Linked DNA regions of Homo sapiens: regions 2, 3, 4 and 5 are each linked to region 1. The links are contacts of gene promoters, found by promoter capture Hi-C in blood cells and fetal thymus (Javierre and others, 2016). All regions are on one chromosome and are shown on one strand. The core of a region is centred on a gene start or on the middle of the fragment in contact, and the rest is flanking DNA. Distances in the headings are between cores, read along the strand shown. Region 1 holds the start of OLIG1 (oligodendrocyte transcription factor 1). Region 2 overlaps GART (phosphoribosylglycinamide formyltransferase, phosphoribosylglycinamide synthetase, phosphoribosylaminoimidazole synthetase). Region 3 holds the start of TMEM50B (transmembrane protein 50B). Region 4 overlaps TMEM50B (transmembrane protein 50B). Region 5 overlaps IFNGR2 (interferon gamma receptor 2).

What was found. The method cuts DNA at HindIII sites, captures the fragments that hold promoters and counts their contacts. A CHiCAGO score of 5 or more calls a contact.
Region 2: a contact is called between a fragment that was not itself captured here and the fragment with the promoter of OLIG1 in region 1, in 1 of 17 cell types (neutrophils). The highest score is 5.3, in neutrophils.
Region 3: a contact is called between the fragment with the promoter of TMEM50B here and the fragment with the promoter of OLIG1 in region 1, in 8 of 17 cell types (neutrophils, monocytes, naive CD8 T cells and 5 more). The highest score is 18.3, in neutrophils.
Region 4: a contact is called between a fragment that was not itself captured here and the fragment with the promoter of OLIG1 in region 1, in 2 of 17 cell types (naive B cells and monocytes). The highest score is 5.3, in naive B cells.
Region 5: a fragment that was not itself captured here is called in contact with the fragment with the promoter of OLIG1 in region 1 in 1 of 17 cell types (monocytes); the score reaches 5.3 in monocytes.

What each region holds. Positions count from the first base shown.
Region 1 is chr21:33,068,784-33,071,447 of GRCh38, forward strand. OLIG1 (oligodendrocyte transcription factor 1) reads left to right here and starts at 1,358. Exons shown (of 1, transcript NM_138983.3): 1 at 1,358-2,664. The coding sequence starts at 1,464. The coding sequence ends at 2,279. The HindIII fragment of the contact is 4,947 bases long and covers 1-2,664 here.
Region 2 is chr21:33,536,446-33,539,109 of GRCh38, forward strand. The region is part of intron 2 of GART (phosphoribosylglycinamide formyltransferase, phosphoribosylglycinamide synthetase, phosphoribosylaminoimidazole synthetase); the gene reads right to left. Among named protein-coding and RNA genes, the nearest start is that of GART, 4.3 kb to the right of the region's middle. The HindIII fragment of the contact is 192 bases long and covers 1,261-1,452 here.
Region 3 is chr21:33,478,619-33,481,282 of GRCh38, forward strand. TMEM50B (transmembrane protein 50B) reads right to left here and starts at 1,356. Exons shown (of 7, transcript NM_006134.7): 1 at 1,220-1,356. The HindIII fragment of the contact is 5,416 bases long and covers 1-2,664 here.
Region 4 is chr21:33,458,115-33,460,778 of GRCh38, forward strand. TMEM50B (transmembrane protein 50B) reads right to left here. Exons shown (of 7, transcript NM_006134.7): 5 at 2,299-2,391. Among named protein-coding and RNA genes, the nearest start is that of TMEM50B, 21 kb to the right of the region's middle. The HindIII fragment of the contact is 2,951 bases long and covers 1-2,664 here.
Region 5 is chr21:33,429,146-33,431,809 of GRCh38, forward strand. The region is part of intron 4 of IFNGR2 (interferon gamma receptor 2); the gene reads left to right. Among named protein-coding and RNA genes, the nearest start is that of IFNGR2, 27 kb to the left of the region's middle. The HindIII fragment of the contact is 9,279 bases long and covers 1-2,664 here.

The DNA.
Region 1 (2,664 bases), core at 108-2,607:
ACAGGCAGAGCTGGGGGTCAGAAGCAAAGATCAGAGTGAACCCATGTGGCAAATATTGGTGGAAGAAAACCAGAACAAAGCAGCCCTGAAACCAGCAAGCACAGCCACCAAGATGCCCTCTTCCCCAGGACATTGACAAGTTATAGTAGCATGCACTGGTGCTGGGGGCAGAAAATGTCCATAGACACCAAGTAATGCTATTCTATTTGGCAAATAAAATGATTCATTCCCACCCTCAACCGATAGGACTATGTGGGTGTTTTGTTTTGTTTCTAATAAGAGGCCAATTTCTGAGTGACTTTTGCTTAAGCAAATGTCAAGTTGCTGATAGACCATCCCTTTCGGGGAGGATAGAAACCCGACCCAAAGGCTCCTTTGTCCCTAAAGACCTTTCAATCAGAGGGATGGGGAAGGAGGTTGGGAGCAGCAGGGAGGAAATATCCTAATGCTACTTGTCATTTAGTCCAGAAATTTAGCGACCTGAACCTGGCAGGAAATTATGTATTTTAAGAAAAAAAAAACATGATACACTCATGTTCATAGCAGCATAATTCGCAACAACCAAAAGCACCCCAAATGTCCATCAACGAATGAATGGATAAACCAAATGTGGTATATCCATATACTGGAATATTATTCAGCCTTGAAAAGGAAGAAACTTTGATACATGCTACAACATGGATAAACCTTGACGACAATATGCTAAGTGAAAGAAGCCAGTCACTAAAAGACAAGTGCTGTATGATTCTACTTATATGAGGGACCTAGAGTAGAACAAATTCATAGAGACAGAACAGAAGAGTGAATTCCAGGAACTTGGGTCGGGGGGAGTGGGGAGTTGTTTAATGGGTGGAGCTTCAGGGTTGCAAGTTGAAAAGAGTTCTGGAGATGGGTTGCACAACAATGTGAATTTAATTTAAATCAATTTAATGTGCACACTAATGCATATAACATTACTGAACAGTACTCTAAACATAAGACGGTAAATTTTATGTTATGAATATGTGATCACAGTTAAAAAAAAATATGAGGGAGGTTGTTTTTGAGTAGACAGTTGCTGGAGGAAGGCACGTGAGTTGCAGCCTGACCAGTGCGACCAGTCCTCCTTCAACAGCCCCGCTTGCCTTGAAAAGGCGCCCTTACTCCGCTCAGGGGGCCTGTCCCGCGCGGCTGGCACAGGCGCTCACAATAACCTCCTAAAGCGGTGCCAGCCGCACCTCCGCGCGGCCCCGGCACAAGCAGCCAATGAACACGCGGCTGCGCCCGGCCTCGCGCCTCCATTGGCTGCGCCCCGCCACCCGCTGCCCCGCAGGTTCCCAAGCCGGGTTTAAAGGGGTAGGGCGCGGGCCAGGGCCCCACCATCGTTTCCCCGCGCGCAGGTCCGCGGGGAGGGGCGGCCTGCCGACCGGCCCACCCCAGGGCGTTCCTGAAGGGCGTCCTCGGCCGCCCCCACCGCCTCCCAGATGTACTATGCGGTTTCCCAGGCGCGCGTGAACGCGGTCCCCGGGACCATGCTGCGGCCACAGCGGCCCGGAGACTTGCAGCTCGGGGCCTCCCTCTACGAGCTGGTGGGCTACAGGCAGCCGCCCTCCTCCTCCTCCTCCTCCACCTCCTCCACCTCCTCCACTTCCTCCTCCTCCACGACGGCCCCCCTCCTCCCCAAGGCTGCGCGCGAGAAGCCGGAGGCGCCGGCCGAGCCTCCAGGCCCCGGGCCCGGGTCAGGCGCGCACCCGGGCGGCAGCGCCCGGCCGGACGCCAAGGAGGAGCAGCAGCAGCAGCTGCGGCGCAAGATCAACAGCCGCGAGCGGAAGCGCATGCAGGACCTGAACCTGGCCATGGACGCCCTGCGCGAGGTCATCCTGCCCTACTCAGCGGCGCACTGCCAGGGCGCGCCCGGCCGCAAGCTCTCCAAGATAGCCACGCTGCTGCTCGCCCGCAACTACATCCTACTGCTGGGCAGCTCGCTGCAGGAGCTGCGCCGCGCGCTGGGCGAGGGCGCCGGGCCCGCCGCGCCGCGCCTGCTGCTGGCCGGGCTGCCCCTGCTCGCCGCCGCGCCCGGCTCCGTGCTGCTGGCGCCCGGCGCCGTAGGACCCCCCGACGCGCTGCGCCCCGCCAAGTACCTGTCGCTGGCGCTGGACGAGCCGCCGTGCGGCCAGTTCGCTCTCCCCGGCGGCGGCGCAGGCGGCCCCGGCCTCTGCACCTGCGCCGTGTGCAAGTTCCCGCACCTGGTCCCGGCCAGCCTGGGCCTGGCCGCCGTGCAGGCGCAATTCTCCAAGTGAGGGCGGGCCTGGGCCTGGGGCGCGACCTCGGCCCGGCCTCCCTTCGCTCAGCTTCTCCGCGCCCCTGCTCCCTGCGTCTGGGAGAGCGAGGCCGAGCAAGGAAAGCATTTCGAACCTTCCAGTCCAGAGGAAGGGACTGTCGGGCACCCCCTTCCCCGCCCCCACCCCTGGGACGTTAAAGTGACCAGAGCGGATGTTCGATGGCGCCTCGGGGCAGTTTGGGGTTCTGGGTCGGTTCCAGCGGCTTTAGGCAGAAAGTGCTCGCTCTCACCCAGCACATCTCTCTCCTTGTCCCTGGAGTTGCGCGCTTCGCGGGGCCGATGTAGAACTTAGGGCGCCTTGCCGTGGTTGGCGCGCCCCGGGTGCAGCGAGAGGCCATCCCCGA
Region 2 (2,664 bases), core at 107-2,606, 470 kb after region 1:
ACAAGAAGTGATATTTGTGATGTACAGTTGTCCCTCTTTATCCTTAGAGGACACATTCTAAGATCCCTAGTGGATGCCTGAAACCACAGTGCTGAACGCTATATATATAGTATGTTTTTTCCTATACATAAACACCTATGATAAAGTTTAATTTACAAATTAGGCACAGTAAGAGATTAACTATCACTAATACTAAAATAGAACAATTATAACTATATGCCAGCATCAGCTTTGGGGCCATTATTAAGTAAAACAGGGTTACCTGAACACATGCACTGAGATAATATGATAGTCAATCTGATAACCAACAGGGCTAGTAAGTAACAACATGGATATGCTGGACAAAAAGATTCACGTCTCAGGTTGGACGGCACAAAATTTCATCATGCTATGCTAGACTGGTGTGCAATGTAAAATTTATGAATTATTTCTGAAATTTTCCATTTAATATTTTGGACTACAGCTGACTGTGGGTAACTGAAACTGTGGAAAGTAAAATTGTGGATAGGCTGGTGACTACTGTATAGGGTCCAAGTCCAGAAAAGGTAGGGTCCTCAATCTGCAGCAACTGCCTGAATGTGATTAGGATGGAGTACCACGCACTGTGGGTTAGTGGTTCTGAACACAACTAGGCTGAGCAGCGTCAACTATATCAGTATAGCAGAGGGCAACAAGAGGAAGAGGTCTCTTTAGTAGTCTTACAAGACTACTTGTAGTAGTCTCATGATGATCTTAAGAGATTTTGATGGGCTTGCCTGTATGACCTCAATCGCAGATAAACTGTCCTAGTTCTCTAATAAACAAATATCTCACCCGTAGAATTAAGATCCCAGAAAAGGAGGTATTTGCTAATTTGTATTATTCCTTTTGGTCTTATATACATGCCACTATCTTCTCCCAGTTTGTGGCTTGTTGGGTCCATGCTCTTCTTTCCATAAATATTATGTGCCACATAGGGAACTAAGCACTGTGCACACCATGCAAAACAAGACAGACAAGTTCCTTGCCCTCATGGAGCTTACATTCTACTAGAGATTATATTCTAGTGGAGGAAAAGAACATAGAAGACAGACAATAGTGAAGTAAAAATAAACACAGACATTCATGATCATAAACAAATGAAATGGGGATGGACACTTGCTTTTAGTAAGAAACTGTAGGAGAGATATAATTAAGGAGGCTAACATTTAAGTGGAGCTCTGAATAATGAGGAGACAGTCATAGTAAGGGGTGGGAACAAATATAAAGTCCAAAGCAGCAAGCTTCTGCTTGGGAAATTGGTAGGACAGCATGGATAGGGTATAGTGAAAAGAGAAAAAGGGATATAAAAGATCAGGCTGGAAGAGCAGGCAGAAGACAGACTGCACAAAGGGCTTTGAAAGGCATGGTAAGGAATTTGAGTTTTATTCTGAGTATTATTAGAATACTGAGGAGTTTCTGAAGCCACTGACAAGCTTAATGTAGTATATGAACTGACCATTTTTTCATTTTTGCCAATTGAGAGATAAGGGTGGAGGCTGGGCACGGTGGCTCATGCCTGTAATCCCAGCACTTTGGGAGGCTGAGGCGGGCAGATCACCTGAGGTCAGGAGTTTGAGACCAGCCTGACCAACATAGTGAAACCCGGTCTCTACTAAAAAAACAAAAAATTAGCTGGGTGTGGCGGCATGCACCTGTAGTACCAGCTACTCGGGAGGCTGAGGCAGAAGAATCGCTTTAACTCAGGAGCCAGAGGTTGCAGTGAGCTGAGATCACGCTACTGCACTCCAGTATGGGTGAGAGTGAGACTCTGTCTCAAAAAAAAAAAAAAAAAAAAAGTCAGAGAGAGATAAGGGTTGAGATCTATTAGAGTAACAACTGTTAAAAACTTTGTTTTGTGAGACAGGTTCTCATCTTACTCTGTTGCCCAAGTAGCTGGCACTACAGATGTGCACCACCATGCCTGGCTAATTTTTGTATTTTTTTTTTGTAGAGATCGGGTCTCACTACATTGCCCTGGCTAGTCTCAAACTGCTGGGCTCAAGAGATCCTTCTGCCTTGGCTTCCCAAAGTGCTGGGATTGTAAGCGTGAGCCACTGCACGTGGCCGCAAGTTGTATTTAATAGCAATACTAAACTTTCCATTTACAAAAATACACAACAAAATGCCTTTAATCTGTATTAGGCACTTACTACTTTTCCAATGGATGTGTTTTATCAGGTTTAAAACAGTTTAAGATAAGGAAATGCCATATTCTGAACAATAGGTTACCTTAAGTTTATAACATATTGGCAAGCATTCAAATTACCAAATAAATTTTAAGGTCAAGGAAAGCACTCAACCCTGAATAGTAGTCTATATTTTATTTTATTTTGAGATGGAGTCTCATTCTGTCGCCCAGGCTGGAGTGCAGTGGCATGATGTCAGCTTACTACAAGCTCCACCCCCTGGGTTCAAGCCATTCTCCTGCCTCAGCCTCCCGAGTAGCTGGGACTACAGGCACCCGCCACCACGCCCGGCTAATTTTTTGTATTTTTAGTAAAGACGGGGTTTCACCATGTTAGCCAGGATGGTCTCCATCTCCTGACCTCATGATCCGCATATCTCGGCCTCCCAAAGTGCTGGGATTACAGGCATTAGCCACTGTGCCCAGCCTATCTTTATTAACATAAAGTACAGATATGG
Region 3 (2,664 bases), core at 106-2,605, 410 kb after region 1:
GGCTGTGTCTCCGGAAGAAGAAATATACGTCCCCACCTCACTCTAATTAAACCTGCTTTTCCAGCGCGATAAATATTCAAGATAACTTTTGGTTTGCATTTCAATAACAAAGTCTTGCACCACTATCTTCAGTTTAAAAAAAAAGTTTAATGTTTGCTCTACGTTTGAAATGCATGCAGGTTTAAAAGACAAGAAACAAAATGATGAAAAAGTGTGACCGGCCTGAGAGTTCAGAGCCTCTGAAGTGTCAAGGGATCCACAGTGCAGGTAGGATGAAGAGTCTGAGAAGGGAGATGGGATCCTCCGAAAAGAGAAAATCGGGTCTTACAGCGCGATGTAAGACGATGCGGATGCCACTTCCCTCCCACCCCGTCCCGTCCGAGGCCTCCGCCCCCTGCCCCTCCGCACCCCCCGACCCAGGCACGCGCAGCGGGGAGCAGCCCAGCCTAGCCCGTCTCACTGCTTTGGTTTTGAAAGGTCACGTATTTACCTTAGAATTTCAGCACCTTCCAACTTACTGTTTTAAGTACCTTTAACCAGCCTATTGGCTAAAAACCGAAACGGTCCTACCCGCGACTACCACTGCTCCAGTGACAATGCTCTGCTGCTACTTATTTAACGGAGCTCAAGGTTTATAATTCTCGAAAGAATGTTGTTCCCCTTCCCTTTCCCCTCCCGCCTCTGTACTTGACTCTCGTAAGAATGAAATCAGAAAAGTGCAGAAAACACAGGCTCCTAGCAATGGTTCGGGGCAAACGGGAGGGGCGAAGAAGGGCTGGAGCCGCCCCGGGGCCCTCGCTCCGGCCTCGGGAGGGCGTCGCGGCCGCAGCAGGGCGTCCCGAAAACCGTCGCCTCCGTGCCCGCCGCGCGAGAAGGTGAAAGGCACGAGATGGAGCCTCTCCAGCCCTCCCCAGGAACGCAACCTGACGGCGTGACAGCGCGGCAGGGCAGCCTCCCCGGGCTGCTTGCGGGTCGCGGCGGCGCCACGGTCACGGTCGGCCCGAAGGGACGCGGGCAGGGGCAAGAAGGGGCGGCGGGGGCTCCGCGGGCCCGAGTCTGCAGGCCGGCGCCGAACGCAGGGAAAACCCGGCTGGACGGCCCCACAGCCCCCAGAAGGCCGGGCCGGACAGGGCCCGACGAGGGAGCCTCCTTACGCGCGGGCGGCGGGCGCGAGCCCTCTACGGTTGCCTGGCGCCGGAGACCCACAGACAGGACTCACCCAGCTTCCTCAAACGCCCACGCCGACTTCAGGCGCGCGCGCAGGAAGGAGACTGCTGCGCCACAACCCTGCCGGCGTCCCGCGGCTCCACCTCAGCCCCGGGAGCCCGGAGCTGGGAGCAGACGCGAGGATAGAGCGCCGGTGAGGCGGGGCGAGGCGCCGTGTGCACCGCAGCGACCAATCGGAGCGCAGCAAGTGGCCGGCCGGGGGCGGGGCGGGACGCGAGGGGGCGGGGAGAGGGCGTTGGCTGGGCGCAGCGGGACGCCGGGCGCTCCTCGCGACCAATCGGCGTGCAGCAAGTGGCCGGCCGGGGGCAGGGCGAGCTCCGAGGGACGGGGTGGGCTGCTCTGCAGGCCTCCCGGAGCCGGAGTTCAGACCCAGCTATCTACGGTTCCGGGCAGAGCGGGACGGGCCTCTCCTGTCCCCTGCCGGTGGGCGGCCGCCGCCGGGCTCCCACTGCTGCGTTTCTGCACGCTGACTTGAAGTGCAGTACCGTGAGATTACGTGCGGACGGAGCTCGAGACCCGGGGGACCAGGGTTTCCCTTCGCCTATGGCCGATCAGTCTTGTCTGTCTGCGAGCTGCCCAGAGTAGGGAAGGTGCTCCGGGAGGGTTCTCGGGAACGGAGGGTCTTTAGAGATGCCTTTTTCTAATCCCCTCAATTCAGAAATGGAGCCCCAGAAAGTTGAAGTTAGTAAACCAGGGCTACCCAGCGAGTGCTGGTTACCCGAGGTGATCCTCACAATACAACTAGTCTTCTGATTTCGCTCGGCGCTCTCCCGTCTATTCACGTAGATTTTTGTCTTTTTTTTTTTTTTTCGTCTTTCTTATAGTCAGATATCTTTCAGCCTCTTGGATTTTCAACATAACTTTAACAGCGTTTGGAAGCCCCGTCTAAATTTCCTACAGAAATGCCTATAACCATTTAGTTGTTTGGGGGAAAGTCGAGCTTTGTTTTTTGGGTGGTTTGTTTGTTTGTTTTGAGACAGGGTCTTGCTCTGTTGTCCAGGGTGGAGTGCAGTGGTGTGATCTTGGCTCACTGCAGCCTCTTACCTCCCACGCTCAATCAATCCTCCCACCTCAGCCTTCCGAGTAGCTGGGATTACAGGTGCGCACCACCATGCTTGGCTAATTTGTGTATTTTTAGTAGAGACGGGATTTCACCTGGCTGATCCTGAACTCCTGACCTCAGGTGATCCACCCGCCTCTGCCTCCCAAAATGCTGGGATTACAAGCGTGGGCCACTGTGCCCAGCCAAGTAGAGTTATTATCAGTGGAAATCTAAAAAGCATTTTACTTGAGGCATAATGAAGTAAAAGGTTTTGTATCATGGAATTATCACCAAAAATGCCATCCTGGATAATGTTCTCCTATAGCTCTTATACATGGGCTAGGATCTAGGTGTTCAATAAATATGTGCTGAATAATTTACTTTTGAAATATGTC
Region 4 (2,664 bases), core at 61-2,560, 390 kb after region 1:
TGCTAATTTATCTAAAGTTTTTCTTTAACATAACTATGGAGACCTTTTAAGAAAATCAGTGACAGCAGCCCACCCTTCTTACAGTCAGGGATAAAATGAGTTTAAAACACACTTTCCGGCTGGGCACAGTGGCTCACGCCTGTAATACCAGCACTTTGGGAGGCTGAGGTGGGTGGATCACCTGAGGTCAGGAATTCGAGACCAGCCTGACCAATATGGTGAAACCCCATCTCTACTAAAAATACAAAAATTATCTGGGCGTGGTGGCATGCACCTGCAGTCCCAGCTACTTAGGAGGCTGAGAAAGGAGAATTGCTTGAACCTGGGAGGCAGAGGTTGCAGTGAGCCGAGATCACGCCACTGCACTCCAGCCTGGGCGACAGAGCAAGGTTCTGTCTCAAAAAAACACTTTCCTATAAGATTCCATGTGTATGAAATAGATACAGACAGAAAGTACATTAGTGGCTGCCTAGGGCTAGGGGAAGGAGTAATGGGGAGTGACTGCTAATGGGTATGGCAGTGATAAAAATATTCTCAAATTGGATTGTGATGATGGTAGCATAATTCTGTGAAAATACTAAAAACACTGAACTGCATATTTTAAATGGCTGAATTATATGGTATGCAAATTATATCTCAATGAAGCTATCTTTAAAAAAGCATTTTCCTTCAGATATGCTTCATACCAGAATTATGTGCTCTAGTAGTATTTTTAATTAACTAAAAAACACATTTTAGATACAGTTGGTGACCAATGTTATTTAAGCCAACCACTGTCCTCTTGTAATCTGACTTATTTTGTATCAAGTGAAAGACAAAAGAAAAACAAAAGTATTCCAAAGATCTTATACTGATCAAACTATGAGACTTAAATGATACTATCAAAAGTATTCAAAAACCAGCTGTGAGTCAGGACAAGGAGATGTGACAGTTAAGCAAAGAAGGCTGACAAAGAGATTCCAGAGGTAGAGGAGTCAGAGGATGAATAAATTGCGTTCTCTGAAACTGACTCCTGTCTTAGGAGCAAAGGAAGAGGGCCAGTGAAACAGTCTTCCGACGCTTCCAGAGACATTTCTGAAACTGGGTTCTATTTTTCATCACTACTGTGAATGAAAAGCTATGGCACCTGGCAGAGCCACAGATTTCAGCATGGTGTAATAAGAGCTCATCCCACTCCATCAGCTGTTTCTGTATGAAGAGTATACATATGTGTTCAGTCTTGCCCTTAAAAAACTCCCCCTGTACCCATGACTTAAAAATTACAGGATTGGCTGGGCATGGTGGCTCACACCTGTAATCCCAGCACTTTGGGAGACCAAGATGGGTGGATCACTTGAGGTCAGGAGTTTGAGACCAGCCTGGCCAACATGGTGAAACCCTGTCTCTACTAAAAAAATACAAAAATTAGCTGGGTGTGGTGGCGTGCACCTGTAATCCCAGCTACTTGGGAGGCTGAGACAGGCAAATTACTTGAACCTGTGAGGCGGAGGTTGCAGTGAGCCGAGATCACACCACTGCACTCCATCCTGGGTGACAGAGTGAGACTCCGTCTCAAAAAAAAAAAAAAAAATTACAGGATTAGGTTGGAGAGAGAAGGTGTCAATGAAACGAAAGATTATCTACTGGCAATCCATAGATTATCAGATAAGGGGTCTATACCCCTTATCTGAAATCCCTGGGGCAAGATATATTTTGGGATTCAGAATTCTTCAGGTTTAAGAACAGTAAGGGAAAGCACATATACTACATAGCACCGCCAGCTGGGTATAGACAAGCACATCCTATAATCTAATATATCTATTTTCATTCCTACAATAAAACATTTGAATACTTACACTAAATGGGATAAAGAAAATAGTGAGCTCCATGTCAGTTTAGGTCAGGTTTTGCTGCCAGACTAGTTATAAATAACTTGATTTTCAGCATTTTGTGGATTTTAGAATTGTATATAAGGGAGTGTACACCTGTACTGGTTTCTCACTTTTTCTACTGCAACTCCCAGTAAATGGGCCTCTAGCATAAAATCCTGGCTGTCTAAGGTAAAGAAGGAAAGCAGAAAGTCTGGAGACAGCTGAGAGGTACCAGCTTTGTCAGTGGCTTGGATTTCCTAACCAGGGCTATCCTACTGCACTAAGTGTTCCCACTGACAAGTTTTATTAAACTCATGTATCTTCACACAGAGCAGTATCTTCAATCTAAGTGAACAATTATACTAAGTTGTACTCAAGGTAGAGTAAGCCAAATATAAAAGACATATCTGAATCTCTCCTATAAAATACAAGAAGAATATATACTTACTTTGGGTAACATATGCACCAAAAAGAATCCACATGGAAGCAATAAGTGACCCAAACATCAACATGAAACCAATGAAAAGCCAAACTCGAGCACCTGTGTAGAGAAGAGGCTTTATGATTTTGTTCATTTTTGCAGCTCTGTAACGTCTTAGGAATACATAATACTAGGAGCCCTGTTAGCCTAGTATATATTATGCATATCAAAGATAGTCATATATTTATATAAATCTGCTGTAAGTTAAATGAATGATGATTTAAAAAAAAAACACTAAAAGAAGTTAAACCATACATGGAAAAGGAAAAAAAGAAAGTTACCTTTTTACTGACTAGAGAAACGAATGCCCTAATTAAAAAATTACACTGTTGT
Region 5 (2,664 bases), core at 42-2,541, 360 kb after region 1:
GAGGGCCCCCAAGTCCCTTTCCTCCATTTGACCAGAGCATCTGTACTTGGCTTCCATGATCAAAAGGTTCAAGGATGAAAATGACTCTGAAAGCCACCAATGTGATCTTTGTTCCAGCTGTGAGTCTGTGTGTTAGGGTCCCCAAGACCCACCCTAGATCGCTCAAAGGACTCCCAGGACTCAGCACAGAGTCACACTCTGATTTCGTTTTGAGACAGAATTTCACTCTGTCTCCCAGGGTAGAGTGCAGTGCCACAATCTCGGCTCACGGGTTCAAGAGATTTTCCTGTCTCAGCCTCCACATCTGTGCCTGGCCCATACTCTGATTTTTTATAGCAAAAGGATGCAAAGCAAAATCGGCAAAGGGAAGAGGCACATGGAGGAAAGTCCGCAGGTGTCCAGGGGTAGGCTTCCAGGAGCCCTTCCTGAGCTGAGTCACGCAGGATACACTTCATTGCTCCACCAGCAAGCTGTGACTGCACATGTGAACTGTTGTCTGCCAGGGAGGCTTATGAGAGACCCAGCGCCCAGGGCTTTTTCTGGGGGCTGGCCACATACGCACCCTCTGTGTAGCGTATGCCAAAATTCCGACTCCCAGAAGGAAAACAGATGTTCCTCATAAAGAAAACACATTGTGCAAACAGTGTAGGGACGGTAAGCCACCTTACCAGTTTGGGAATGGGAGGGATAAACTTGAAATCCAAATTCCCAGGCTGGGCGCGGTGGCTTACGCCTGTAATCCCAGCACTTTGGGAGGCCGAGGCAGGCAGATCACTTGAGGTCAGGGGTTCGAGACAGGCCTGGCTAGCATGGTGAAAACCCATCTCTACTAAAAATACAAAAATTAGCCAGGCGTGGTGGTGGGCACCTGTGATCCCAGTTACTCAGGAGGCTGAGGCAGGAGAATTGCTTGAACCTGGGAGGCAGAGGTTGCAGTGAGTCGAGATCACACTACTGCACTCCAGCCTGGGCAACGGAGCAAGACTCCGTCTCAAAAAACAAACAAACAAAAAACGCACACAAATTCCCAGATGTCAGCTAAGGGTTGACCTGGAAATCAGGCCCTTCAAAGGGCATTAGTGTTAGGCCTGTTACGTTAGCTCTTCTGCAGTCTGTGACTCTAAATTTTAGGAATTCCAATTGAATGCTGAAATAAACCCAAAGGGAATTTTTGTCCTTAAAATCGTGTCTTCCTCTGCCCTGGCAGTCCAACACCATTAAACAGAAGAAAAGAAAATGTAAAACCATCAAGTAATACTATTATTCATAGATCATACAATTACTTTTATATTTTTATTTTTTAATTTTAATTTTTCAGAGACAATTTCACTCTGTCACCCAGGCTGGAGTGCAGTGGTGCAGTCATAGCTCACTGTAGCCTCCAATTCACAGGCTCAAGCCATCCTCCCACTTTGGCCTTCCGAGTAGCTGGGACTTATAGGCATGCACCACCATGACCAGCTTATTTTTTTATTATTATTTTCTGTAGAGACGGAGGGAGGGGGTCTCACTATGTTACCCAAGCTCAAACTCCTGGACTCAAGTGATCCTCCCACCTCAGCCTCCCAAAGTGCTGGAATTACAGGCATGAGCCACCATGCCTGGCCTATTTTTGTATTTTAAAAAATAACAACATGTTCTGTATTTGAATAATCTGCCTTTTTTCAGTTAACAATTTAGCAGCCTTGTCTTCCCATGTTTTCAAGCATATGTTATACCACCATTTCATGTGGCTGTAGTGGATTATATTGTATCTCAAAATTAGAAAACAGTTCTTTGCAAGAAACCCTATACTGCCATAATAGGGTATCGCTGTTTTCCACTTTGGTATGGGACAATGACAGCCTTGCCAGGACAACAGGAGCCATTGCCTGGAAGACCAGGTGGGGAGGCAGCAAGGCCTGCTCAAGGCAGCAGAGGGATGCGCAGAGGAGACACAGAACCTTCCTAGAGTCTAGGGTCCAGTTGTCTCCTGATGACATAAATCCTTAAGGTCATTTTAGCTGAAACTATAGGAGGCTCAAGCACATTTCGGTCAAACTAGAAGCAGGTTGGGAATGAAAGGAACATTATTTCCCAGAATAATTTTTTCTCTGTTGACTAACTTGAGGTATCTAGATTAACCGTGAGATACAAAATGTTGGCCAGGCGCGGTGGCTCACGCCTATAATCCCAGCACTTTGGGAGGCCGAGGCAGGTGGATCACCTGAGATCAGGAGCTCGAGACCAGCCTGGGCAACATGGTGAAACCCTGTTTCTACTAAAAATACAAAAATGAGCCAGACATGATGGTGGGTGTCTATAATCCCAACTACTCAGGAGTTGGAGGCAGGAGAATTGCTTGAACCTGGGAGGCGGAGGTTGCAGTGAGCCGAGGTCGCACCATTGCGGTCCAGCCTGGTGACAGAGCGAAACTCCATCTCAAAAAAAAAAAGAAATACAAAATGTTTGTTTTGAGATGGAGTCTTGCTCTTCATCCAGGCTGGCGCAATCTCAGCTCACTGCACCCTCTGCCTCCTGGTCCAAGTGATTCTCCTCCCTCAGCCTCCCATGTAGCTGGGATTACAGGTGTGTGCCACCACATCCAGCTAATTTTTGTACTTTTAGTAGAGACTGGGTTTTGCAATGTTGGCCAGGCTGGTCTCTTAACTCCTGACCTCAGGT